6 separate regions of the Homo sapiens genome follow, and all the other regions are linked to region 2. Evidence: promoter capture Hi-C in 16 types of primary human blood cells and fetal thymus (Javierre and others, 2016). All regions are on one chromosome and are shown on one strand. Each heading gives the region's core, a stretch centred on a gene start or on the middle of the fragment in contact. The rest is flanking DNA. Distances are from core to core; before and after follow the strand shown. Region 1 overlaps FNIP1 (folliculin interacting protein 1). Region 2 holds the start of IL3 (interleukin 3). Region 3 overlaps RAPGEF6 (Rap guanine nucleotide exchange factor 6). Region 4 overlaps RAPGEF6 (Rap guanine nucleotide exchange factor 6). Region 5 overlaps FNIP1 (folliculin interacting protein 1). Region 6 overlaps MIR3936HG (MIR3936 host gene).

The links. Contacts are between HindIII fragments. The CHiCAGO score rates a contact against its expected background, and 5 or more counts as called.
Region 1: a fragment that was not itself captured here is called in contact with the fragment with the promoter of IL3 in region 2 in 1 of 17 cell types (total CD4 T cells); the score reaches 5.0 in total CD4 T cells.
Region 3: a fragment that was not itself captured here is called in contact with the fragment with the promoter of IL3 in region 2 in 2 of 17 cell types (total CD8 T cells and naive CD8 T cells); the score reaches 7.1 in total CD8 T cells.
Region 4: a fragment that was not itself captured here is called in contact with the fragment with the promoter of IL3 in region 2 in 6 of 17 cell types (naive CD8 T cells, neutrophils, total CD8 T cells and 3 more); the score reaches 7.8 in naive CD8 T cells.
Region 5: a fragment that was not itself captured here is called in contact with the fragment with the promoter of IL3 in region 2 in 1 of 17 cell types (naive CD8 T cells); the score reaches 5.5 in naive CD8 T cells.
Region 6: a contact is called between a fragment that was not itself captured here and the fragment with the promoter of IL3 in region 2, in 1 of 17 cell types (megakaryocytes). The highest score is 5.8, in megakaryocytes.

The regions. Positions count from the first base shown.
Region 1 is chr5:131,707,391-131,711,685 of GRCh38, forward strand. FNIP1 (folliculin interacting protein 1) reads right to left here. Exons shown (of 18, transcript NM_133372.3): 7 at 3,188-3,271; 8 at 1,811-1,882. Among named protein-coding and RNA genes, the nearest start is that of RAPGEF6, 74 kb to the left of the region's middle. The HindIII fragment of the contact is 476 bases long and covers 1,573-2,048 here.
Region 2 is chr5:132,058,517-132,062,846 of GRCh38, forward strand. IL3 (interleukin 3) reads left to right here and starts at 2,139. Exons shown (of 5, transcript NM_000588.4): 1 at 2,139-2,352; 2 at 2,451-2,492; 3 at 3,796-3,885; 4 at 4,010-4,051; 5 at 4,153-4,330. The coding sequence starts at 2,191. The coding sequence ends at 4,275. LOC105379174 (a long non-coding RNA gene) reads right to left here and starts at 4,196. Exons shown (of 5, transcript XR_001742531.2): 1 at 4,124-4,196; 2 at 2,955-3,092. The HindIII fragment of the contact is 14,005 bases long and covers 1-4,330 here.
Region 3 is chr5:131,625,719-131,630,154 of GRCh38, forward strand. All of the region lies in intron 1 of RAPGEF6 (Rap guanine nucleotide exchange factor 6), which reads right to left. Among named protein-coding and RNA genes, the nearest start is that of RAPGEF6, 7.3 kb to the right of the region's middle. The HindIII fragment of the contact is 2,101 bases long and covers 855-2,955 here.
Region 4 is chr5:131,597,981-131,602,268 of GRCh38, forward strand. All of the region lies in intron 3 of RAPGEF6 (Rap guanine nucleotide exchange factor 6), which reads right to left. Among named protein-coding and RNA genes, the nearest start is that of RAPGEF6, 35 kb to the right of the region's middle. The HindIII fragment of the contact is 9,095 bases long and covers 1-4,288 here.
Region 5 is chr5:131,680,310-131,684,437 of GRCh38, forward strand. The region is part of intron 11 of FNIP1 (folliculin interacting protein 1); the gene reads right to left. Among named protein-coding and RNA genes, the nearest start is that of RAPGEF6, 47 kb to the left of the region's middle. The HindIII fragment of the contact is 3,513 bases long and covers 188-3,700 here.
Region 6 is chr5:132,364,965-132,369,380 of GRCh38, forward strand. It overlaps MIR3936HG (MIR3936 host gene), which reads right to left. Exons shown (of 8, transcript NR_110997.1): 2 at 1,604-1,817; 3 at 1-63. It overlaps MIR3936 (microRNA 3936), which reads right to left and starts at 635; the gene lies at 526-635. The HindIII fragment of the contact is 698 bases long and covers 2,818-3,515 here.

The DNA of each region.
Region 1 (4,295 bases), core at 561-3,060, 350 kb before region 2:
ACAGGGAACCATTATCATCACTATTAAAAAGGTACAGGCCAGATGATAAATTATTTTGGACACCAGCACTAAAAACTGAGACACTTTCATTATGAAGATCTATTCATTTGAATTCTGACAAATTCAATGATAGAGGATAAAGCTGTATGTGCCATGCAAACATGTAGACCATCAATGAACTCATTCTAAATTACTTTAGAATGCAGATTCTAAATGCAGACCACATTTTATCAATTAGTATTATAAACTCTTGTAGTCCAAGATTGGGTATGTACAACTAAATCTGGGTATGACTTCAGTGAAAAATAAAATGCTGTCCTAAGTTTGGAAAAAATACATTTCACTGCATTCTAATATTAAAAATAACCCTATTAGAAAAAAAAGAAAACACACATTAACTTAAATGGCATATATGAATCCAATAACTTGAAGCAGCCTAACAGATCAGTCTAGCCAGATGCTTCAACTTACAAAGAATGTAAGTATAAATAAATTATACTTAAATCTTAAATAAAATAATGAGAATTAAATTCCTGCCAGGGAAGACTAAATATCTAGATTACATCGAAGCAAAGTTTATTAAAAGAAATAAACTCTAGATTCTTTAAAACAAAAATAAGAAACTCAATTAGAAAAGAAAGATGAGATTACTTGAAAAACACAAGCTACTCTTATTAGAGTAGTGGTCGGCAACCCTAGCTATCCATTAGAATCAAGTGTTAGGTTTTGCATTTTGTTTTGTTTCACAAATACAGATGCCTAGAGATACCTTCTCTAGGTTACACGAGAGTCTTTGAAAGTAGAGTTCAGGCACTTGAATTTTTTATAAAACTTCTCTTTGTTATTCTAATACATACCTAGGGATTGCAATATACAGCAAGTTTAGATTTTTCATTTATACTCAAAACTGAATTACAAAACAATTTCGATAGCAGAGCCATATAATGTAACAACACATGCTATCACACTGAATTAAGTTTCTCATATCTAACAGTAATTCAAGCCTAAAATTACTCCTCCTTTTACTTATGCTGCTCTCTGGGCCCCAACAAACACTTTTCCTTTTAGCTAAAATGCTTTTCTGAGCTTTTGCCTGGATAACTGCTATTTATTTCTCAAAATACAACTCAATCATCATCCTTCTGTAAAGCATTGTTGGCATCCCTGCCCCTTGCCCAGGCTAAGTGTGGTGCTCTTTCGCTGAAGCTTTTTGCGCAGGCCTATCACTAAATGCATCACACAATGACCTATGACAGATGATTTTCCTAATTTTTCTCCCAGTAGACTCCATACATCTGTGTTCCGTAAGGGCAGACTCTGGGCTTTAATTTTTTTAATGTCCACCATGTTTCAATAAATGTTTGCTAGACCTACAAATTTTGGACAGGTCCATATTTGGAAAAAAAAAAAAAGTATAACATTGATTCAAAATGCCTATGCTTTTCTGGGCAAGAGACAATATGACAATTTAAACTTTAGTTAGCAGCAAGCAAATATAAGCAAACGTGTTTTTTTTTTACTACAGTTTCTAAGCAGTTTTTCTGACCAATGCTTTTCTTCTTATATTCACTAAGCTTCAACCAGTGTACTTTACTCTGGCTTTACTTCATCCTGGCTTTATCCTACTTAGCACACTTAAAAGTAAACATGAAAAATATTAAATTTATAAGACTTTGCTCTGGTCTTTTCACAGTTCTCTTGTAAGGCTAATATCAATATGAACAAATTTGATAATAAAGGGAGGGATAAAAAAGAAAATCAATGCCAACAGTAATCTCATAAAAAACTGAATACAAGAACGTGACATTACCAGACCGTGCTATGCCACTGTCTCTGTCCTCATTGAGCTCTCTTCCAGGCATGTCCATTGGGTTGCTGTGAACTATAAATAAAGATGAAACTGTCAGTTATAAAATATATTGCTATTCAGGTGGATGAACAGCTCCTTTTAAATAGCAAACGAAATCATGCTCATCTCATTGCATTCCCTTATTTTTTTCAATAGCATGGCACCAACCCAACACCAAGAGCTATTACTCAGTTGAACAAGCTTTGAGAGCTCTGTGAAGATTTGATACACAGTATAAGAATCTAAAACATAATATCTAAAGAAGCAAGGAGTGACTAAAAGTCATATTTTGGAAGCATATTCAGTGACATATTTATAATATACTATTAAATGAAAAAAAGCAAGCTACTGAACAGTATGAGTGCTTGCTGGGACCAAGTGGTGGGTATATCATAGTTCACTGTACTGTTTCTGCCTATAACAATGTATGTTTCAAAATTCTCTATAATAAATTGAGATATTTATTTGAATAGTATGATCCCCATTTTCTTTAAAAAACAAAAAAGCAGGTATTTCTGGCTGATAAAATGGCTAATATATATTTTTGCCTTTTAAAAGTGTTTTCCAAGTTTTCTACAAATATATATTTTTTATATCTAATATTTACAGGGAAAGAAAATATTAATCAAAACAAGAAGGGCTAAATTGATACCAATCTGAGAACAATGAAGAGTAAATGTGTTCACATTCCAGTAATTTCCACTAAAAGGTTACAATGTTAGGTAATCCGCTAAAATGTGTGAAAACAAGGAATATGATTAGAATCCTGGATATATACACATGAACATACTCTACAATCATCAACTTGATTATGTAAGCAAATATAGTCATATATGCCTTTTACAGAGCATTATAGTAGTGCTTGTTCATCTAAATCTTAGCTCCAAGAAAAACTGCTCTTATGGAATAGTGTAGATCAGAAATTTTACAATAATAACAAGATAGGATAATTTTCTGCAATTGGTGAACTATGGTACAAAAGCTACTCAGCCATGGAAACAAGACAGTGTCACATTAAAAATTCCAAGTGGTATCATAAGAAATAAAGTTCATATTAAGTTTTGGTTTCAGATTCTGAAGTTAAAATCATTATGCCACAAGAGAAATGACAAACTGAAATTTCATAAAAATGTCAATTCTACTGATAATCCGGTGTCTGGAAACTTTAAGAACATGTTCAGTAGAAAAGGAATTAAGTTTTTATACTTCCTAATGCAATGTTTTCTTAACCACAACCTCACCAACTGCATTCATCTACTCTCTTGTTTCCACAGCTTAACTACAGATTCTAGCCGTTGGGGCACACCAACTAGTCTACCCACACAGCACATCGCAAACCTGCAAAGAAAGAGGCGCTCCTGATCAGGCGGAGCGGACCCTGCTCAGAGAATGCCCGCCTGGGGCTGCAGAACTGTGAAAGACCTACATGGCAAAAACGTAAAATACACATGAAAGAGGACTGTTAGAGAAGCCACAATGCGTCAGGGAAAAAAGGTGAGCTAAGGCAGCACAAGAGCAGACCAACAAATATGGATGGAAACTTTTAAACTAAATAAGAATTCAAGCTGTCTTTCCCATTTTTGAAACAGGATGGTGTTTCTTTAGCCATGATTTATATGAAACAACAACTTCATGTATTTTTACTAATAAATCTATATGTAATAAAAACAAGCTTCTGCTATATAAAGTAAAAATTATTTTAAATGTTCAATCCTTTCTAATGTAAAGCAGTATTTTTAAAGATTTGAAAAAGTACGATAATGTTATCTATCTAATCTGATATTTGCCAAATAAATTCATTTTTTTAAAGTTGTTTGAAGATTATAGTATGTGCCTACAACTGCAGCGAGGAGAAAACCACCTAAGCACTTGGCACACAGCATACAACAGGGTGCAAAACCAGAAGAGATCTTACTGACAAATTAAAAATTGGTTTTTCTAACCCAGTTGTAAGTTACAAAGTAATGGAAGAAACCAAGGTTACTAAACCAGGAGTCAGCCACTGTGGAAGGAGGAACACAAATGAAGCTCATCAGGGACCAGACTCCCAGCTGTTCAAGAGAAGTGGCTGCCACATGCTTCATCAAGAAAAGGTAACTGCAGTCTGAAGACCCAAGAAGGACATTATAGCCTGAAAGCAAGCAGCTGGGTTACCTGTTAGTTATGCTTCATGAAAATAGTCTAAATAGCCATGAAGGACATTTAACTAGGATGGAATACGGGGCTTTCTGTTTTAAAAAGTGACAATTGCATGTTTCTTCTTTCCTTTTTTGAAACAGAGTTTTGCTCTGTCATGTAGGCTGGAATGCAATGGCATAATCATAGCTCACTGCAAGCTCGAACTCCTGAGCTCCAGTGATCTTCCCTCCTCAACCCTCCCCATGAGCCAGGACTACAGGTGCATGCCACCAGGCCCAGCTAATTTTGAGAACTTTTTAGTAGAGAC
Region 2 (4,330 bases), core at 889-3,388:
TGACTTTTAAAGAAACAAAAAAAAATACAGGAATGTTTTGTCTCCACAGCTTTAAATTCATTGAACTTTAAAATTCCCTAGAAAAGCCCACTTACACTAAAAAAAATACAGCTTTTCTCTGTAAGGAATCACATTATTTGTGCACAAGTCCCCAAAACGTTTACATAGACAGTAACACCAAGGTACAGTTGAGTATGCAAGGAACAAACTCTGGGTCCGTGGGGCAATAGGGGACCCTACCGGAGCTAAGATTGCTGAGGTAGTTAGATCAGAGCCCCTCAAATGCACTGAATCACTGAGGATCTTATCAAAATGCGATTTTTGATTCAGAAAGTCTGGGCTGGGGCCTGAGGGTTGACACCGCTAACAAGCTCCCGGGCAGGGCTGACCTGCAGGTCTGGGACCACAGGAAGGGTAGCAAGACTGGAAATCTGTCTCCTCACAAGACTGAGCTGCTAGTGGAGGTTACCATGTCTGTTTTATTCACAGCAAGTGCTTTGTAGACGTCTGTTGAATGAATTGTGCCTACGGAGTACGCAAGCTGGTGCTAAGGCTCCCCTCTGTGTGTTGAGTTGTGCCTGTCAGACTCCACTCCGGGTCCAGAACCTAGGGCTCTTCCTGGTCCAGGGCCCAGCCTGGGGCTGAGCCAGGAGGGCATATCAGCTACAGAAATCATCCTCACAGCATGGCCTTGAGTCACAGCCTCTTCACCTGCCTCCCCACAGCCACATCCTGGTCCTTGTCTTCACCTGATCTGCTTATGCTCAGAAGCCCAAAGCACCCAAATTCCGCTGCCTCAGCATAACCTCCTATCCCGCATCCCCCACACTGATCACAACACACCGCACCATGACCCAGACCCTGGCCTTTCCTTACTGCTCTCCTCTCCCTCCCACCCGGGGCCAGTCATCTTGAAGAAGTCTTCCACATGCCCCTGTCACACTCATCCCTTTACCAAAAGCCCCTACCCCATGGGGTGGGTCAGGCAGGCCCCAAGACAGGCCCGTATCAGGAGGACCCCTCTTCTCTCAGGGGCTGCCCTCTGGGATAACCACCCCCGCCCTTCTGGGTTTCCTGCTTCCTATCTGGCTGCAGTTTCTCAGGTCCCTTGTGGATTTCCCCATGGTCTGTCCCCACTCACATCCCCTCTCTGCAAACCTTGCCTACTGGGCCTGCACCTGGCAAATCCATGCTCAGCACAGACGGGGATCAAGACCTCTCAATACAACTGTCTCCTGCCAATCCCTGCCCCAGCAGCCTGAGGCCCAGTCTGAAACCAGGGAGTTGCTCTCCTTTCTCCTCCCTTGACCTCACCCCTCAGACCATGCCAATTCTGCCTCCTAAACCTCCCAGGCCAGCCCCTCCCCCAGCTCCCAGTGACAGTGTCCTCAGGTACCTGAGCTCAGCTCTCGGTGCTACCAGAGGGACTGCCAGGGGCTGCAGCCGGGCCTCCTGCAGAGGCTGAGTCCCACACGCAGGGAACAGCCATGCCACTGCTAGCAGACCAGTAAGAGAATGGCCACCTGGGGCCTGAGCGCCCTCGGCCATCCACCAGAAACAAAGTGTCAAGGAGAAGCTGCCCGAAGCCCATGGGACAAACCACTGGGGACTGGAACACCAGTAATTCTGTATTGGGAAGCGGCACCAAGAGATGTGCTTCTCAGAGCCTGAGGCTGAACGTGGATGTTTAGCAGCGTGACCGGCTACCAGACAAACTCTCATCTGTTCCAGTGGCCTCCTGGCCACCCACCAGGACCAAGCAGGGCGGGCAGCAGAGGGCCAGGGTAGTCCAGGTGATGGCAGATGAGATCCCACTGGGCAGGAGGCCTCAGTGAGCTGAGTCAGGCTTCCCCTTCCTGCCACAGGGGTCCTCTCACCTGCTGCCATGCTTCCCATCTCTCATCCTCCTTGACAAGATGAAGTGATACCGTTTAAGTAATCTTTTTTCTTGTTTCACTGATCTTGAGTACTAGAAAGTCATGGATGAATAATTACGTCTGTGGTTTTCTATGGAGGTTCCATGTCAGATAAAGATCCTTCCGACGCCTGCCCCACACCACCACCTCCCCCCGCCTTGCCCGGGGTTGTGGGCACCTTGCTGCTGCACATATAAGGCGGGAGGCTGTTGCCAACTCTTCAGAGCCCCACGAAGGACCAGAACAAGACAGAGTGCCTCCTGCCGATCCAAACATGAGCCGCCTGCCCGTCCTGCTCCTGCTCCAACTCCTGGTCCGCCCCGGACTCCAAGCTCCCATGACCCAGACAACGCCCTTGAAGACAAGCTGGGTTAACTGCTCTAACATGATCGATGAAATTATAACACACTTAAAGCAGCCACCTTTGCCTTTGCTGGTGAGTAGCTTGGATAAGACTGGCCTGCAGCAGTGAGGGGTGGTGGCTGCCTAAGGCCAAAAGGCCTCATGGGCCTTTCTCTCCCTTCACCCCCACAGGACTTCAACAACCTCAATGGGGAAGACCAAGACATTCTGATGGTAAGAGCTCAGCCCGTGGATCCCGATCCACTTCCTGCCTGGGTGACTTCAGCCATGTCATTCCATCTTACCTAGCCTTGCTTTCTTCATCTGTAAAATAGGGTTAATAGCACCTATCTCAGTGGGATTGTTATGACAATCAAATGGCACAATGTGCATGTTCTGGCCCAGCATCTGGCACTTAAGAGTTCAATACATGGCCACAGCCATGGCTATAATAATGAAAATGACTTTTAAATTAGAAAATGAAAAGGCAGTTCTAGGTGAGGAATACCAAGGGCCTTAAGGTCAGTGTTTGGTAGGGCAGACTCTGGACTGACAGACAGAAATTTCCCCCTCAGATGTGCCAGCTTCTTTTTCCCTTAAAAAATTGAGTTTGTGTTTTCCACCCTCATTGGCTGTGGCATTATCATTTACAGTTATTTTTCATGGTTCCAGTTGGTTGCAGTTGTTCTGTCTCACCTTTGCATGACATTTCTTGGGTCAAACAAGAAGTGGAAGCCTTTGCTGAGTTCCTGGGCCATCTGTGTTTGGGGCACTCACAGCTCACATGCTGCACCCATTTCCATGCTGGGGTCTCTGTGATTTTCTTCTTGATTTCTAGGAGACTTTAATTCAGTCAGGGCATGAACACTGTTATCAGCCTCTGAGCTACAAATACTTCCCTTGGAAAACCCCCTGTCTTTTGTAGAGCTTCTTTTTGGAGATATTTTTTCCCCCAAGTGCAGAAAGATCCACCTAGGTACCCCCTCCCCACCCATTTTTTTTTTTTTTTTTGAGACAAGAGTCTCACTCTGTTGCCCAGGCTGGAGTGCAGTGGCACGATCTCAGCTCACTGCTACCTCTGCCTCCTGAGTTCAAGCAATTCTCCTGTCTCAGCCTCCCAAGTAGCTAGGATTACAGGCATGCACCACCACTCCCATTTTTGTATTTTTAGTAGAGACGGGGTTTCACCATATTGGTCAGGCTGGTCTTGAACTCGACCTCAGGTTATCTGCCTGCCTCGGCCTCCCAAAGTGCTGGGATTACAGGCTTGAGCCACTGCGCCCAGCCCACCTAGGCCCTTTATGTAGCTCAAATGGAGCCAGAGACTGGGGGCTTGAGGAAACCAGGTCCTGCCTGCCACTCACTTCTAGGCCTGTGCCCTTGGGCAGGGACCCACCTGAGGCAAGAACGGGACTAGGAGGGAACCCGAGGATGTCCCCAACAGTGGGCTTGGGAAACTGTGGGGGTGACTTCCACCTGCTTGTGGGAGGGATACTCTGTAACCTTTCCCCCTTAAGTGTATTCTCTGCCCCGTTAGGAAAATAACCTTCGAAGGCCAAACCTGGAGGCATTCAACAGGGCTGTCAAGAGTTTACAGAACGCATCAGCAATTGAGAGCATTCTTAAAGTATGTGAAGCTGTTGAGGGTTTGGGATCCCTGTGTTGGCCCTGCCCTGCCTCTGGGGAGGAGAGCAGGGCCCACTCCCTTTCCAAGGGAATCTCTGACCATCTGCTTTGGTCTCTTTCCACAGAATCTCCTGCCATGTCTGCCCCTGGCCACGGCCGCACCCACGGTAAGCTGTCCCCCAAGATGCCCGTCATGGCTTGCTCCTCAGCTGGTCATCACCATTACAGCCTGGACTCACCTAATGCCACCTTCTTGGTTTCTTTATAGCGACATCCAATCCATATCAAGGACGGTGACTGGAATGAATTCCGGAGGAAACTGACGTTCTATCTGAAAACCCTTGAGAATGCGCAGGCTCAACAGACGACTTTGAGCCTCGCGATCTTTTGAGTCCAACGTCCAGCTCGTTCTCTGGGCCTTCTCACCACAGAGCCTCGGGACATCA
Region 3 (4,436 bases), core at 655-3,154, 430 kb before region 2:
GACAAGAGAATTGTGTGAACCCGGGAGGTGGAGCTTGCAGTCAGCCGAGATAGCGCCACTGCGCTCCAGCCTGGGTGACAGAGACTCCGTCTCAAAAAAAAAAAAAAAACCATACTTCTTGGTTTCCATATTATCTTAGTATAATCACTAGTAGTCTTACCTTTCACATGGAAAATATCCCAGTTTGGATAAAATACATGTCCAGTCTACCTGTATACCTATAAGCCTCCCTGTCTCTAGTCTGCTCCTCCCCACTCAATTACATCTCCAAAATGCTCACATAGTAGTCTTTATAAAACTGATCTTATTTCCAGGCTTTAAACCCTGCAACGGTTCTTTCTCCTTTATTTATAAGATGGAGTCCAAATTTCTGAAATTATCCAAACCCTGCTAGTACGTCCAGCTTCATCATTAAACATCTCACATCATGTACCATCATCCCCAAACATCCTAGACATTAGCCCCAGTGTTCTGCAACCTTTTTTTCATTTTCATCCCCTCCCAAAGAACCTTTCAGACAATTTTTCGTAAGCACTGCCCCATCTCTAATTAAATACTAAAGAATAAGACACTGTCAGTTTAGGGCTGAGTTTTAGAGGGCCACAAACCATACCAATAGCTGTGATTTTTTTTCCCACTCCCATAAAAGGCAATTTTTGCATCTTTGGGAGCGATATCACTTCCAACGGGAATGCCTGCTCTAGACTTACAGATTGGCTTCTTATTCTACAAGTATACATGGCTTGCCATCATCAGTACTTTTGCTCCTGCCTCTCTGCTTGGAATGACCTCTCTTGATCATCCAGAAATCAATTCATGACATTTAACACTGGGAATTCAATGCTCCCCCATGAAGCTTGTTCCCTTCCCCATCTTGCAATCCCAAAGCCCTACTCATACCTTTGTCACTAATAACTAAAACATTTATTACATTTATGTTTTCTTATGTCTCCCAAGTCATTGATGAATAGGGACCATGTCTAACTCCTCTCTACAACCTTGGTTTTTAATATATCAGATATATTATTTCTTAAATGAATGTACAAATTAATGTTATCATCTGGGTGAGGTAACCATATCTCAGTTTAAGCGGGACAGTCCCTCTTTAACCTGTTACTCTGAAATAAATATTAACAGCTTCTCTTTTAATTCACAAAAATGATTTGAACAACATATTGTTAATCTATACCTAGGAAATATAGGAAATAAAATTCTGAGCAAGAGTAGAACATAATCAGATCTGAGAGGAAGATCACTCTAGCAGCAAGACTCAATGACTCAAGCAATAATTTGGGGGTAGAAACAATAAAACAGACTGAATTAGAGTAGTAAAACTTGTAAGAAAAGGGCAAATAAAAAGATTCAGGGGACAAAGTTTAGTGGCAAGTTGCATCTATGAGGAATGAAGAGAAATAATACAAATTCCTAGAGACAGCAACTCGGCCAGCTGCCAACAGATTATGAAGGAAGAGGAATAATGATGGCTCAATTTAGGACAAGTGGTTGAAGAACCTGGAGGACAAGATGGTTGATATATGAAGCTGAAGCACATAAAATTTAGGGGATAAGTTGGAAAACATAATCCTAGGAGGCATTAGCCTATAACAACTAACTGAAACCAAGCTGCTGAGTAAGACTGTCCAAGAAACAAAAAGTTAGCAGTTCCAATGAATACGAAGTGCTACCTTTTTAACATATGATGACTTTACAAAATGTATTTCCAAATTTTGGCTTGTAAAATATTTATTCATCATTTAATATGTGCAAATCATGGCATTAAGCACTGAGAGGGAAATAAACATTAAGGGAAATATAAGGAGTTCATTCTGAAGTAAAAAAAGGAACGTTATAAAGAATGGTATTAAATGTGGATTGAGCTGAGAAACAGCCAAGTTCAAGGTCTAATTATGACTGTGGCTTCTTTAAGGAATTCTGGCATAATGACGCAAAGAAGTACAGGCATACTCTGTTTTATTGTGCTTGGCTGGTATTGTGGGGTTGTTTTCTTTTTTTTTAAATACAAATTGAAGGTTCATGACAACCCTGCATCAAGCAAGTCCAACAGCACCATTTTTTTCAACAGCACATGCTCACTTCATGTCTCCGTGTCACATTTTGGTAATTCTCACAACATTTCAAACTTTTTCATTATATTTGCTATGGTGGCCTGTGATCAGCAATCTTTCATGTTACTACTGTAATTGTTTTGGGGCACCACAAACTGTGCCCATGTAAGATGGCAAACGTAACTGATGTATGTGTTCCAACTGTTCCACTGGCTGTTCCACCTTCTCTATCTCCCTCTCTTGGGGCCTCCCTATTCCCTGAGACATAACAATACGGAAATTAGGCCAATTAATAACCCTACAATGGCCCCTAAGTGTTCAAGTGAAAAGAGTCACCTATCTCTCACTTTAAATCAAAAGCTAGAAATGATTAAACTTAGGAAGGCTAACAACGGCCCAAAGCCAGGCCTCTTGCACCACACAGTTAGCCATGTTGTGAATGCAAAGAAAAGGCACATGGAGAAAATTAAAAGTGCTACTTTAGTGAACAAAAAAATGATTTAAAAAAAAAAAGTGAAAAAGTCTTATTGCTGATATGGAGAAAGTTTGAGTGGTCTAGATAAACCATCAAACCAGCCACAACAGTCCCTTAAGCCAAAACCTAATCCACAGCAAGGCCCTAACTTTTCAATTCTAAAAAGGTTGAGAGATGAGATGGCTGCAGAAGAAAAGTTTGAAGCTGGTGGAAGTTGGTTCATGAAGTTTACGAAAAAAAGCCACCTCCACTAACATAAAAAGTAAGTTATCCTGAAGATCTAGCTAAGATAATTAATGAAGGTGGCTACACTAAAAATCAGATTTTTAATGTAGACAAAACAGCCTTATATCAGAAGAAGATGCCACCTAAGACTTCCATAACTAGAGAGGAGAAATCAATGCCTGGCTTCAAAGCTTCAAAGGACAGGCTGACTCCTGTTAGAGGATAATGCAGCTGGTGACTTTAAGTTGAAGCCAATGATCATTTACCATTCTGAAAACCCTAAGGCCCTTAAGAATTATGTTAAATCTATTCTGCCTGTGCTCAGTAAATAAACAACAAAGCCTAAATGACAGCACGTTTGTTTACAGTATGGGTTAATGAATATTTTAAGTCCACTGATGAGACCCACTGCTCAGAAAAAAAGATTCATTTCAAAATACTACTACTCACTGACAATGCATCTTGTCACTCAAGAGCTCAGATGGAGGTACACAAGGAGATTAGTGATTTTTTTCAGGCCTGCTAATACAACATCCATTCTGTGGCCCATGGATCAAGGAAAAGTTTCAACCTTCAAGTCTTGTTATTTAAGAAACACATTTCATAAAGCTACAGCTGACATAGACAGTGATTCCCTAACAGATCTGTGAAAAGAAAATTGAAAACTGTCTTGAAATGATTCATCATTCCAGATGCCATTAAAACCATCTGTGGGCCAGGCATGGTGACTCACGCCTGTAATCCCAACACTTTGGGAGGCTGAGGTGGGAGGATCACTTGAGCCTAGGAGTTCAAGACCAGTCCAGGCAATGTATTGAGACTATCACTTAAAAGAAAAAAAAAATTGTGAAGCATGGGAGGAGGTCAAAATATCAACACTAACAGGAGTTTGAAAGAGGTTGAATCCAACCTTTATGAATGACTTTGAAGGGTACAACACTTCAGTGAAGGAAGCAACTGCATGTGTGGTAGAAATAGCAAGAGAACTAGAATTAGAAATAGAGCCTGGGCTGGCTCCCAGCACTTTGGGAGGCTAAGGTGGGAGGATTGCTTGGGCCCAGGAGTTCAAGATCAACCTGGGCAACATAGCAAGGCCTCGTCTCTACAAAAAAAAAAAAAAAATCAGCCACGCATGATGGCATGCACCTGTAGTACCAGCTACTCAGGAGGCTGAGGTGGGGTCACTTGAGCCTGGGAAGTAGAGGCTGCAGTGGGCTGTGATTACGCCACTGCACTCCAACCTGGGCAACAGAATGAGATCTTGTCTCAAAGAAAAAGAAAAAAAAAAAAAAGGAAAGAAAAAAAAAAGAAATGAAGATGGAGCCTGAAGGTGTGACTAAATTGCTGCAATCTCATGATAAAACTTGAGTAGATGAGAAGCTGCCTCTTATGCATTAGTAAAAAAAGTGGTTTCTTGAGACAACCTGCTCCTGGTGAAGATGATGTACATATTGTTCAAATGACAACAAAGAATTTAGAATACCACATAAGCTTAAGCTTAGTTGATAAAGCAGCAGCAGAATTTGGGAGGACTGACACCAATTTTGAAAGAAGTTACTGTAGGTAAAATGCTATCAAACAGCATCACATGCTAAAGAGAAATCTTTCATGAAAGAAAGTCAATTGATGTGGCAAACTTCATTGTCTTATTTTAAGAAACTGTCACAGCC
Region 4 (4,288 bases), core at 1,749-4,248, 460 kb before region 2:
TACACAACTATAATGTGTCGATTAAAAAGTTAAAAAAAGTATCAACATTGCTGGAAATGAGACCAAATAACCTAAAACCAACAGAAAAAAAACCTGCTATATTTATTACGTTCAAGAAAAAAGGAAAACAGATGATGGATTCAACCAAAGAACTGGTATCTATGAAACAGAAATGAAAATCTAGAATTGAAAAACTACAATTAAAACTTAAAAATTCACATGAGTGGGTATTTTAGACTAGAAACAGCAGAAGACAGAAATTCACAAATTAGAAAATAAGGCAGTAGAAAATGGGAGACTGAAACACAGACAGAAAAAAGGACGGGAAGATGGAAAACAGTGTAAAGGAAATATGGGACAAAATAAAGCAGGAAGGAGGAAAGAGAAAACAGGACAGAAGCAATAATTTTTAAAATACTCTGTAAGAATTTTCCAAAATCGATGAAAGATATCAAATCAGGGTATCATGAAGATCTATAAACCCTAAACAGAATAAATCCAAAGAAAACCATACCTAGCAACATTAGACAAAACTGCTGAAAAGCAAAAAGCAAGAAAAATCTCAGAAGCAGTCAGAGGAAAAAACATATTAACTGCAAAGGAGTAACAAGAACACTGATTACTGAGTCTTCAACATAAATAGAAGCAAGAACATGATAAAACATCTTAAAAGTGTTACAGAAAAAACTGCTCAAACTGTTTATGTTGGAAAAACACCCTCCTAAAACACTGCTGTGAAGAATTAAAGAAGACTAAATAAATGGAAGAATATACATGTTTGCAGATTGACAGATTCATTGTAACAACGTCATTTCTCTCTGAATTGATTTATGGATTTAATGCTATCCTAATCCAAAGCCCACAGCCTCCCAAAGGCTTTCTTGTGTATAACTGTGTGTGGAAATTGACAAGCTGATTCTAGAATTTACACAGAAAGGCAAAGCAACAGTGATAGCCAAGACAATCTTGAAGAACAAGCCTGAGTACAAGCCTGAGTTACTCTACTGAATACAAACTCATGCTATCAGATATCAAAACACACAGCTTAGGCCGAGCGTGGGGGCTCACGCCTGTAATTTCAGCATTTTGGGAGGCAGAGACGGGCGGATTACTTGATGCCAGGAGTTTGAGACCAGCCTGGCCAACGTGGTGAAACCCCGTCTTTACTAAATCCTGTCTCTACTAAAAATACAAAAAGTAGCCGGGCATGGTGGTCCACGCCTGTGGTCCCAGCTACTCGGGAGGCTGAGGCATGAGAATCGCTTGAACCCAGGATGCAGAGGTTGCAGTGAGCCGAGATTTTGCCACTGCACTCCAGCCTGGGTGACAGAGTGAGACTCTGTCTCAAAAACAAAAAACAACAACAACAACAAAACGAACAAACAAAAAAACTCAAACTACACAGCTTGACAGTGCAGTACTTGCATGAACACAGGCATGAGCAAAATAAACAAATGAGCAAAATAAACAATAAACAAATGAGCAATAAACAATTGAGCAAAATAAAGAGACCACACAGAGATACACACACACACACCTACACACACGGGGTCACTTAATTTAACACAAAGTGGACACTGCAGCGCAAGAGAGAAAAAGATAGTTTTTCAATAAATGGTGCTGGATCAACTGGATGTCCATAGGGATACCTAATGAATCTTGCCAATAATAAAATCCATGCCTTCAATCAACAATTTACATTTTAGAAAATTTGTATCCATTACTGTGAGCTTGACACTTCCCTAAACTTTTCAGAAGAGGCTGGTGGTGATATTAGCAATGCCATTTTTGATAAATTTTTTTTTAAAGTGCCAAAATGAGAAAAACTACATACACCAGGACCATGAATATTTTCCAAATGGCCAACGCATGGCATTACAAAAATCAAACATAGAGAAATGATTTATTCAATGTGCAAGATAGACCAATTGTTTCTAATGCAACACAGTAAAAAGTTCATGGATAAAGTCTCAGACCCCATACTGAAACTAATCTGTAAGCAACCTGTCAAGTTTTGGTACTGTTTTAAAGAAGAATACCCAACTTATCTGAAAAGAACTTTCCCGCATTTTTTTTTGTTTTAACAACTTCTCTGTATGAAGATTTCTTTCATTCAAAAAATATATCACAACAGACTGAATGCAACAGATATGACAATCCGATTAATGTCAGAAAGATATTAGATTTGCTAAACTATAATTAAATCTTTTATGAAAATAGTTCTTTCTCATAAATGTTAATTGTGTTAACATGTAATGAGGCTGGGCGCAGTGGCTCATGCCTGTAATCCCAGCACTTTGGGAGGCCGAGGCAGGCAGATCACCTGAGGTCACGAGTTCAAGACCAGCCTGGCCAATGTGGTGAAACCCCATCTCTACTAAAAATACAAAAATTAGCCAGACGTGGTGGCACGCGCCTGTAGTCTCAGCTACTTCGGAGGCTGAGGCAGGAGAATCGTATGAACCCAGGAGGCGGAGGTTGTAGTAAGCCGAGATCGCGCCACTGCACTCCAACCTGGGTGACATGGTGAGACGAAAAGAACTAACGAGAAGGAAGGAAGGAAGGAAGGAAGGGAGGGAGGGAGGGAGGGAAAAGAGAGGAGAGGAGAGGGGAGGGGAAGGGAGGGGAGAGAAGAGGAGAGAAGAGGAGAGGAGGAGGGAGCGAAGGAAGGAAGGAAGGAAGGAAAAAAAGAAACGTGATGGGTTTCTCATTAAATTTAAAATGACTAATAAATATTTTTAAAATTAAGAAAAATGAATCTTGAATTCTACCTCACATCAAAAGTAAAACTCAATTCCAAGATGAATTGTAGATCTATATTTGAGACAGAAAACACCAAACTTTTGGAGGAGAAACAAAGAAAATCTTCGCAATCATGAAGAAAGGAAAGATTTGATTTTTTTTAAAACAGGACACAAAAGGCCCTAATCACAAGGGGACAAGTTGAGAAAGGAATTACTCTTTCTCAAAAGATGCCAATAATAGAGCAAAAAGAGCTGGGTGTAGTGGCGTATGCCTGTAATCCTCGGGAGTCTGAAGCAGGAGGATCTCTTGAGCCTAGGAGTTCAAGACTGGCCTGGGCAACGCAAGAAAACTCCATTTCAAAAAAAAAAAAAAAGAAGGCTGGGAGCGGTGGCTCACGCCTGTAATCCCAGCACTTTGGGAGGCCGAGGCGGGTGGATCACCTGAGGTCACGAGTTCAAGACCAGCCTGACCAACATGGTGAAACCCCATCTCTACTAAAAATACAAAAAATAAGCTGGGCATGGTGGCGGGCGCCTGTAATCCCAGCTACTCGGGAGGCTGAAGCAGGAGAATCCCTTGAACCCGAGAGGCAGAGGTTGCAGTGAGCCAAGGTCACACCATTGCACTCCAGCCTCAGTGACAAGAGCGAGACTCCGTCTCAAAAAAAAAAAAAAAAAAGGAAAAGTGGCACAGTGGAAATAGATAATAGACTAGACATACCCAACAAAGGACTTCCACTCAGAATTCAAAAATAACTTTTACAAATCAACAGAAATGATAAAGACAACCCAATTAATAAAAGAAGCTATCCAAATACCTGATAGAAACATAAATGTCATTCATCATCATTAGTAACAGGAAAATGTAAAATAAAATCACAATGAACTAACATAATGTAATCAGCAGCAGAGTAGCAAAAATTCAAAATAAGCAAACAATAAAACACAAACATTAAGGGTTGTCAAACATGTAGAGCAACTGGAACTTAACTATACACAGCTAATGGTTATTAAAATTGGCACAATTGGCCGGGCGCAGTGGCTCACGCCTGTAATCATAGCACCTTGGGAGGCTGAGGCAGGCAGATCATGAGGTCAGGAGATCGAGACCATCCTGGCTAACACAGTGAAACCCCGTCTCTACTAAAAATACAAAAAAAATTAGCTGGGCATGGTGGTGGGCACCTGTAGTCCCAGCTACTCAGGAGGCTGAGGCAGGAGAATGGCACGAACCCAGGAGGCGGAGCTTGCAGTGAGCTGAGATTGTGCCAGTGTACTCCAGCCTGGGCGACAGAGCGAGACTCCGTCTCAAAAAAAAAAAAAAAAAATTGGTACAACTAATTTTAAAAAACTGTCACAATCTCCTGAATTTGAACATGCACATTTCCACTACAGTCATGCCTTGCTTAATGATGGTGATACTTTCTGAAAAATGCATCATTAGATGATTTCATCATGCTAACATCATAGAGTGTACTTAACACAAACCTAGAAGATGGTATAGCCTACTATACATCTAGGTTATATGGTATAGCCTATTGCTC
Region 5 (4,128 bases), core at 694-3,193, 380 kb before region 2:
TTGAATTTGAAACAATATAAACATGATGTATTACAATGGATAGAAACAATAAGAACAGGTCACTTTAATGAGCTCTCTGTAGAACATATAATCATTGCTAAGAATTTTAAAATAAACAAAAAGTTATTTTATAGAGCAAATATGACTAGAATACAAACTAGGCATATATGAAAATGTTTGTTTTTAAAGCTTATTACAGGTGTCCAGATACGATGGAAAATTGAAGACAAATGTTTATCCTCTCTTCAGTTTCTGAGGCCCCAAATGAACACCACCTAAAGATTTGAAAACAGATAAACTAGTGCAACAAATAGAATTAGAGAAGAACCAGCTGGGTGTGGTGGCTCACACCTGTAATCCCAGCTCTTTGGGAGACTGGGGCAGGAGGACTGCTTAAGCCCAGAGTTCAAAACCAGCCTGGGGAACACAGTGAGACCCTGTCTCTATTATTTAAAAAATAAATTACTTAATTTTAAAAAAATTGCCAAGGAACTATTACTGAAAATTAAAATTAGAGATTTCATGAAATTCTGGAATACAAACATATGGTGGAATTGTGATTGAAGTAGCAGAGTAGAGAAAGTTATAAGGTCATAGTATCACAGAGGGAGACATGGACAAAGGAGAGCTAATTTGCCCCACTAAAGCAAGATGAGGCTCAAGACTCACAAATTTTTGGGAAAGTCATGACAGGAGTTACGATACAGTACTGAAAATTGGGAGACTAATTCAAAGTCCATAAATGGTTGGCAGCTCCCTACCTCCTCTCCACTTCCCCAGAAAATGACTACAGATAGGAGAGAGCAGATATAGCAGTTGAATGGCCCCGAGGAATGACCTTTTCCAAACTCTTCCTGGCATTTGTATCTTTCAGAGTATATAATCAGATATAGAGTATATCTTGTAGTGTTAAATCTTCATGGGATTGTGGGGGGCGGTGGTATTGAAGGAGCAGAGATTAGGGGAAAAATATCTAAATATGCTTCTTCAGGTAATGATAATAAAAAAAGGTTGAAAAACACTGCCCTGAAGTGAAGGTCTCCAGTCAAAAGCCTGATTATGCACAGAATTCCTAACCTACAGTTTGTTACCTCATTCTCAACTACAGAGCGCAACCAAAAACACTGATATTTAGAGAAAGCCTCCAAGCAGAGAAAAAGACAAGAACAGAAACACACACATACTCACCCATATAAAATGACTCCAGAGGAAAACAGAAATAATGCAAACAATGGAAGAAAACTTTTAAACAAAACTCTAATGTACATTAAAATTAAAGAGTATGGTAGAGAATCTAATTTTCAAAGAAAAGGATTATCCAAAAATAAGAAAGCATCAAAGATTTGCTGAAATGAAAAAAGCATAGAAGGGATAGAAAAACAAAACATTCACAAAAAGAGAAGGAAAATATGAAAAAAAAGGAACACAGAACAATCCAGGAGTGCCAATTTCTAAAAAAAAAAAAAAAACGGATTCCAGAGAGAAAACAGAATAAATTGTAAAAGAAAGCAGAAAAATTACCAGAGCCGAAGAACATGATGGTGCTATAACAATACTGAGACCATAAAGGACCAAGAAACAGGTATAAACCCATATATCATGGCAGAAAATAAATATGATCTAAAACTGATAAATGAGGAAATAGCAACATTTCGTATACTTTTTAATAATATGGAAGTAAATAACAAGAAATAATAGTTAAAAAGAGAATGTGTCTGGGAAGAATGGGGTGAGTAGGATAGGATTCATTTATTTTTAATTATTGGACCTTTCAGAAATTTTTGTTTCTTAATCATGTGCATATACTTTTTGATTAAAAGAAACAATGTATAAATAAATAAATAAATATGCTGATCATTTAAGACTTTTTCATGAGTTTCTTCAGCATATTACCGTCTACTATAAGTCCATGTGTCATTGCACAGAGCCAGATCACAAACACTGGTATTAGTGGTCCAATGAGAGCCTTTGCTTTAGTATTTTAGTATTATATTTGTTTAAAAGTATTATATATGCTATGGCCTCAGAGTGTTATCAAGTATAAAGAAGGCAAAGAAATTAATTACGCAACAGTGCTTCTCACTATATACAACTCTATGTTGTTGTCATTAACAATCTAGAAGTAATGGCCAGGTGCGGTGGCTCACATCTATAATCCCAGCACTTTGGGAGGTCTAGGTGGGCGGATCACCTGAGGTTGAGAGTTCAAGACCAGCCTGGCCAACATGGCAAAATCCCGTCTACTAAAAATACAAAAATTAGCTGGGTGTGGTGGTGAGTGCCTGTAATTCCAGCTACTTGGGAGGCTGAGGCACAAGAATCACTTGAACCTGGGAGGCAGAGGTCACAGTGAGCTGAGATTGCACCACTTCATTTCAGCCTGGGCGGTAGAGCAAGACTCCGTCTCAAAAAAAAAAAAATCTAGAAGTAATGGTTTATTCTAGAAATCATTTCTTTCTTCTCCACTAATAATTGTGCCCTATCATTCAATGGTAAGAAAAGCAAATACTTTCAGTAATCTGTCCCCTTATTTTTCCCAGTCTGTCCCCTTATTTTTCCCAGTGCCCGGACAATGAAAGACTCTTTTGGTTGGGAGGAAACTGTAGGCATGATTTAGTTTTCTTTGATATGCCTAGGGTCTATATAAAAATCTAAAGACTTCGTCTTTGTTAGGCAGCAATGTTAACTAAACATGCTTCCTGCTTCTCTAGCTTTCATGGTTTCTGTACACATGTAAATAATTTCCTTCCTCTTCTCAACTGCCCAAAATTTACTAATCACTTGATCTCAAATAATCATTTAAAGATTATGTCATTGTTAATTTTAAATAATCCCTTAATTTAAGAAGTACATTTATCTCTTGGTGTCTTCAGGGGATTGGTTCCAGAATTCCCATGGTTACCAAAATCTGTGGATGCTCAAATCCCTTATGAAATGGCATACTATTTGCATGTAACCCATGCACATCCTCCTGTATACTTAAAACCACCTCACTTTGGGAGGCCGAGGCAGGCAGATCACGAGGTCAGGAGATTGAGACCATCCTGGCTAACACGGAGAAACCCTGTCGCTACTAAAAATACAAAAAAAAAAATTAGCCAGGCGTGGTGGTGGGCACCTGTAGTCCCAGCTACTCGGAAGGCTGAGGCAGGAGAATGGTGTGAACCCGGGAGGCAGAGCTTGCAGTGAGCCGAAACTGCGCCACTGCACTCCAGCCTGGGTGACAGAGCAAGACTCCGTCTCAAAAAAAAAAAAAAAAAAAACCATCTCTAGAGTACTTATAATACCAAATGCAGTGTAAATACTATGTTAATAATTGTTATACCGCATTGGTTTTTTAATGTGTATTTTTTTAATTGCAGTTAATTTTTATTGGTTTTTCTTTTTCAAATATTTTGATCCGAGGTTGGCTGATTTGCAGATGTGGAACCCACAGATATAAAGGTCTGACTGCAGAGTCTATTCTCATTATTTGAGGTAGTTATTTTCTATAAAGCCCACTCAAGCACTGAATTAGCAACACTGAACCACTGCCCCTAAGGAAAATAAACAGGTTCCTATGAGCCTCTGGTCACATTTTCATCAAACCCTCAATACATAACCTTGATGTGCCTCTCTGTTTAAGGATATCTTATTTGATGCTGTTGATTCATTAATATTAAACTCATGGCTGACAGCACCATAAATAATGTCTGAAGGAAGCTTATCTAACACATGTATTTTTTCTGTAAGGTACATCACAATCTTCTTACACTGAATATTAGACAGCATTTCAGCACTACATTTGGAAGCCATTTTTAACAGCAAAGTCACTAACAAAAAGCAGAAAAATGCAAAAAAATTGGCACTAAATAAATGTCAAAAAAGTATATTTGTTAACAGTATGAGAATTAAAACAAGAAGGCAAAGCATTAGACCTTGCTTGATCTAAACTAGGAACATATGCGTCAGGCAACTCACATTTTTCATTGCTTTGCACATGTAAACAAATTACTGCAAAAGCACTGCAATTATATTTTGGGGTTACAAATAAATGTTAGCAAGTGGGTGAATTCTAAAATACAAAATCCACAAATGGTGAATATCAATTGTATATGTGAAAGTACTTATATAGGTAGACCTCCTATT
Region 6 (4,416 bases), core at 1,917-4,416, 310 kb after region 2:
CAGGTGGATCACCTGAAGTCAGGAGTTTGAGACCAGGCTGACCAACATGGGGAAACCCTGACTCTACTAAATACAAAAAATTAGCCGGGCCTGGTGGTGGGCACCTGTAATCCCAGCTACTTGGGAGGCTGAGACAGCAGAATCACTTGAACCCAGGAGGCGGAGGTTGCAGTGAGCCGAGATTGCACCATTGCACTCCAGCCTGGGCAACAAGAGCAAAAACTCTGTCTCAAAAAAACAAAAACAAACAAAAAACACCATGCAGTTTATATAACATTTTTACTTAACACCTTTCCCCTAGCAACCTCCACCAGGCAACCTTCATTTAACCTAAAACAAAGGGCTTTGATCGCCTCGTAGGGCCTGCATTCTACAGGATGGGCTGGGGGTGGGAGCAGTTCAGAAGTTCGTCATAGATAAGAAATGAAATATCTGGGTTGGCCACTCCCAGATTCCTTAGCTTGGAGCTCTGAACACACATTCTTCTTAGACCATAGGGTCATTCTTCAGGTATGCATAAGTTATTGCTGCCAAGTGCATCTGTCGGGTGCATCTGCCATACACCCCTTACCAGAAGCGTCCAAACACGGATTTGAGGGATCTACAGCAGACACTGGACAGATGCTCTGAATCATTCTCTACTCTGATGCTGAAGCTATAATATTGGACTAAGCTTGGGCCTTCTACTCTTTTCTTTCTTTCTTTTTTTTTTTTTTGAGACGGAGTCTTACTCTGTTGCCCAGGCTGGAGTGCAGTGGCGCGATCTCGGCTCACTGCAACCTCCACCTCCCAGGCTCAGGCAATCCTCTCACCTCAGCCTCCTGAGTAGCCGGGACTACAGGCGCGTGCCACAATTGGCTAATTTTTGTATTTTTAGTAGAGACAGGGTTTCACCATGTTCCTTAGGCTGGTCTCAAACTCCTGACCTCAGGTGATCCACCCTCCTCAGCCTCCCAAAATGCTGGGATTACAAGTATGAGCCACCGCACCCAGCCTATTCTTTTCTTAAAGGAGGAGGCCTTCCCTTCCTCAGGCAAGTAATTGCTGACTACTCCAGCCTACATAACGTCCAGACATATCCAAATCTGTGGAGAACACAAAGTTCTTAAGGTATTTATTTAGAGTCAATAATCAAAGTAAAACTAATAATTATAGCTAATATTTAGTTTGTAGTTAATATATGCTAGGAGCTCGAGCTAAGCACTACCATCCCAGGAAACTGAGGCTTAAAACACTTTTAAAATTTGCTCAAGCTCACAAGCTTGGAATTGAAGAAGAAAGCAATTGAATATTGGTCTTTCTTCTATCATACATCCAGAGGCTCTGCACTTAATCAATACAACATACTGTCTCTTATTGCACAAGTAACTACAAGGTTCATCTGTAAAATTCTATTCTGTAGAATAGAAGGGAAAACAAATTAAGGAATTACAGATGTTTATTCTTCTGAGCTTTAATTTAACGTATTGTTTGATTCAAATAATTTATATATTAGCTATCTATTGCCACATAACATAATACCTCAAAATTTACCATTTTAAAACAACCAACATTCATTATTTCTCAGAGTTTCTGAGGATCAGGAATCTGGGAGCCACTTAACTGAGTGGTTCTGGTCCAGAAGACTCTCATGAAGTTGCAGTCAAGCTGTCAGTAGTCATCTCGACACCCAACTGATGCTGAAGGAGCTACTTCCAAGCTCACTCAAGGTTGTTGGTGGGCCTCAGTTCCTCATTAAATGTTGGCTAGAGACTTCATTCCTTGACATCACATGGACCCCTCAAAGGGCTGCTTATAACATGACAGCTTGCTTGTCTCTGAGCAAGAGAAAGGGAAAAGAACACCCATGATGGACATCTTTTATAATGTAATTACCCAAGTGATATAAGTATCATCACTAATGCTGTATGCTTTTGGTCACATAGACCAATCCTGGTACAGGGATCATTCATTGGGTGCCATCTTGGAGGCAAGCTACCACATCTGCCAGGGTATGAATGCATTTAATCTAAAGTTCTAGCCCTGAACTGTAGGGTTATCTACCATATAAATCAGTTTTACATTTTTTAATATGTAAAATAGGAACATCCCAATTCAGAATATTGCAGGATAAAGGGCCTCAGGTAACTGATTAAGATTCTAAGCTCTCTTTCTCTTTTAAAAGATGAAATTTAAGGCTGGGTATGGTGGCTCCTACCTATAATCCCAGTACTTTGGGAGGCCAAGACGGGGGGATCACTTGAGGTCAGGAATTTGAGACCAGCTTGGCCAAAATGGCAAAACCCTGTCTCTACCAAAAATACAAAAAAAATAGCTGGGTGTAGCGGCGCGTGGCTGTAGTCCCAGGCACTTGGAAGGCTCAGGTGGGAGGATTGCTTGAGCCCAGGAGGTTGAGGCTGCAGTGAGCCAAGACCACCTCACTGCACTCCAGCCTGGGTGACAGAAGGAGACCCTGTCTCAAAAAAAAAATGCAATTTAAATAGTAATGGCATTCAGATAGTAATCACAGTGCACCTGGAACTGGACGGCACCATCTTAGGTTGCTCTCTGCTTTGCGCATGTGGACAAGCCATCTATGACAAATAGTTTCTTTTCTTCCTAAGGATATGCAGCTTCTTTTGTAGTATACTGCATTGTTTTCAGTCCCTTTCAGGAATGTTATCTGATGCCCAACTGATATTTCTCAAATGTTAAAATAAGACTTCTTCATCTTGTTTGGTCTGGACAGAGGTCAACATTCTTCTCATAAAAGCTTTCATTTCTTTTGAAGCATTAAAATAATATTTTAGCACACAAAAAAGGAGTTTATTTTCAAGAAGCTTTGCTTTCTTTTTCAGTTAGTTCTAGATAAGAACTATAACTTCACATAAGATGTTAGAAGGATTTAAGTACATTGCTGAAGGTATAACCATCCATCTTCAGGAAGTAAGAATAGTGAATAGTAAGTATAAAGAAACAAACAAGTCCTGTGATAACATCTTTATCATAATTTTTTTAAGTCTATTATGCTTTATGCAAATGTTTAGATTTCCTTGTTAAAAATCTGCTGGCCAGGTTAGGTTCCCTTTCTGTAGCTTTATTTTCAACTCATAATATAGTGACTATTAAATATTCTTTACTCAACACATTATATTGTAAAAATATACACTTAGTTCTGTTTCTATCACTAAGCCACTACTATTTTAAAAAGGAATATCTTGCATTGTTAAGTTTAGCAGCCCAAATTCTTAAAGGCCTTAGGAATGGTGCTGTCCAATAAGATAACCAATAGCTACATGTGGCTACTGAGCACTTAAAAAATGAGTCTGGCCAGGCATAGTGGCTCACGTCTGTAATTCAGCATTTTGGGAGGCTGAGGTGGGAGGATTGCTTAAACCCAGGAGTCTGAGACCAGCCTGGGCAACACAGGGATGCCTTGTCTCTGTAAAATAAAAAAAATAAAAAAATTAGCTGGGCACGGTGGCATGTGCCTGTAGTCCTAGCTACTCAGCAGGCTGAGGCAGGAGGCCCACTTAAGCTTAGGAGTTCAGGGCTGCGGTGAGCTATGATTGTGCCACTGCACTCTAGCCTGGGTGACACAGTGGGACCGTGTCTCCAATAAATAAATGAATAAATAAATATTAAAAAATAAAAAGTGTGGCTAGTCCAAATTGAAATGTGCTGTAAAATACACACTGGATTCCTTTTTTTTTTTTTTTCAAATCCTGAGAACCTGTGAAACACACTGAATTCTTAAGATTTAGTATGAGGAGGGGAAAAAAAGATCAATGATTTACATATAACAATGTAAAATATCAATAATTTCTATATTGATTATATGATGAAATGATCATGTTCTGGATATACTTGATTAAATATACCATTAAAGTTAATTTCATCTTTTATTTTTACTTTTTAAATATGCAGCATTGCCCAATAAAATACAGGACAACCAGTTACATTTTTATTTTATATATTCCTGCTTGGGACATAATATTTAAAAATTATTCATTCTATATCTGAAATTCAAATTTAACTAGGAGTCCTATATTTTTATTTGCTAAATCTGGCAATTTTATTAATATGGCTACTAGAAAAGTTAACATAACAAATGTAGCTCCTTATCCTATGGAACATTGCTGCTTTAGAATCACCTCGCTGCTTTTTTTTTTTTTCCAGTTAGCTTCTGAATAAACTCTGCACGGAAATAACTAATCTGTGGGGAATATTTAACCCTAGGCTAGGATCGTTAATCGTGAAGTTAAATTTTTACATCTGCATGAACAAAATGGCTTGTTACAGACGAAAATGTGGAAAGGGCATCTGGACTAGAATGAAAAGTCATAGCTCCCAGCCTCTCTACTAGGGTAGTTAACAGTCCCAGGTTCAAAATAATCCCCGTCCCTCTTATAAGATTAGGCGGTGTCAAGAGCAACT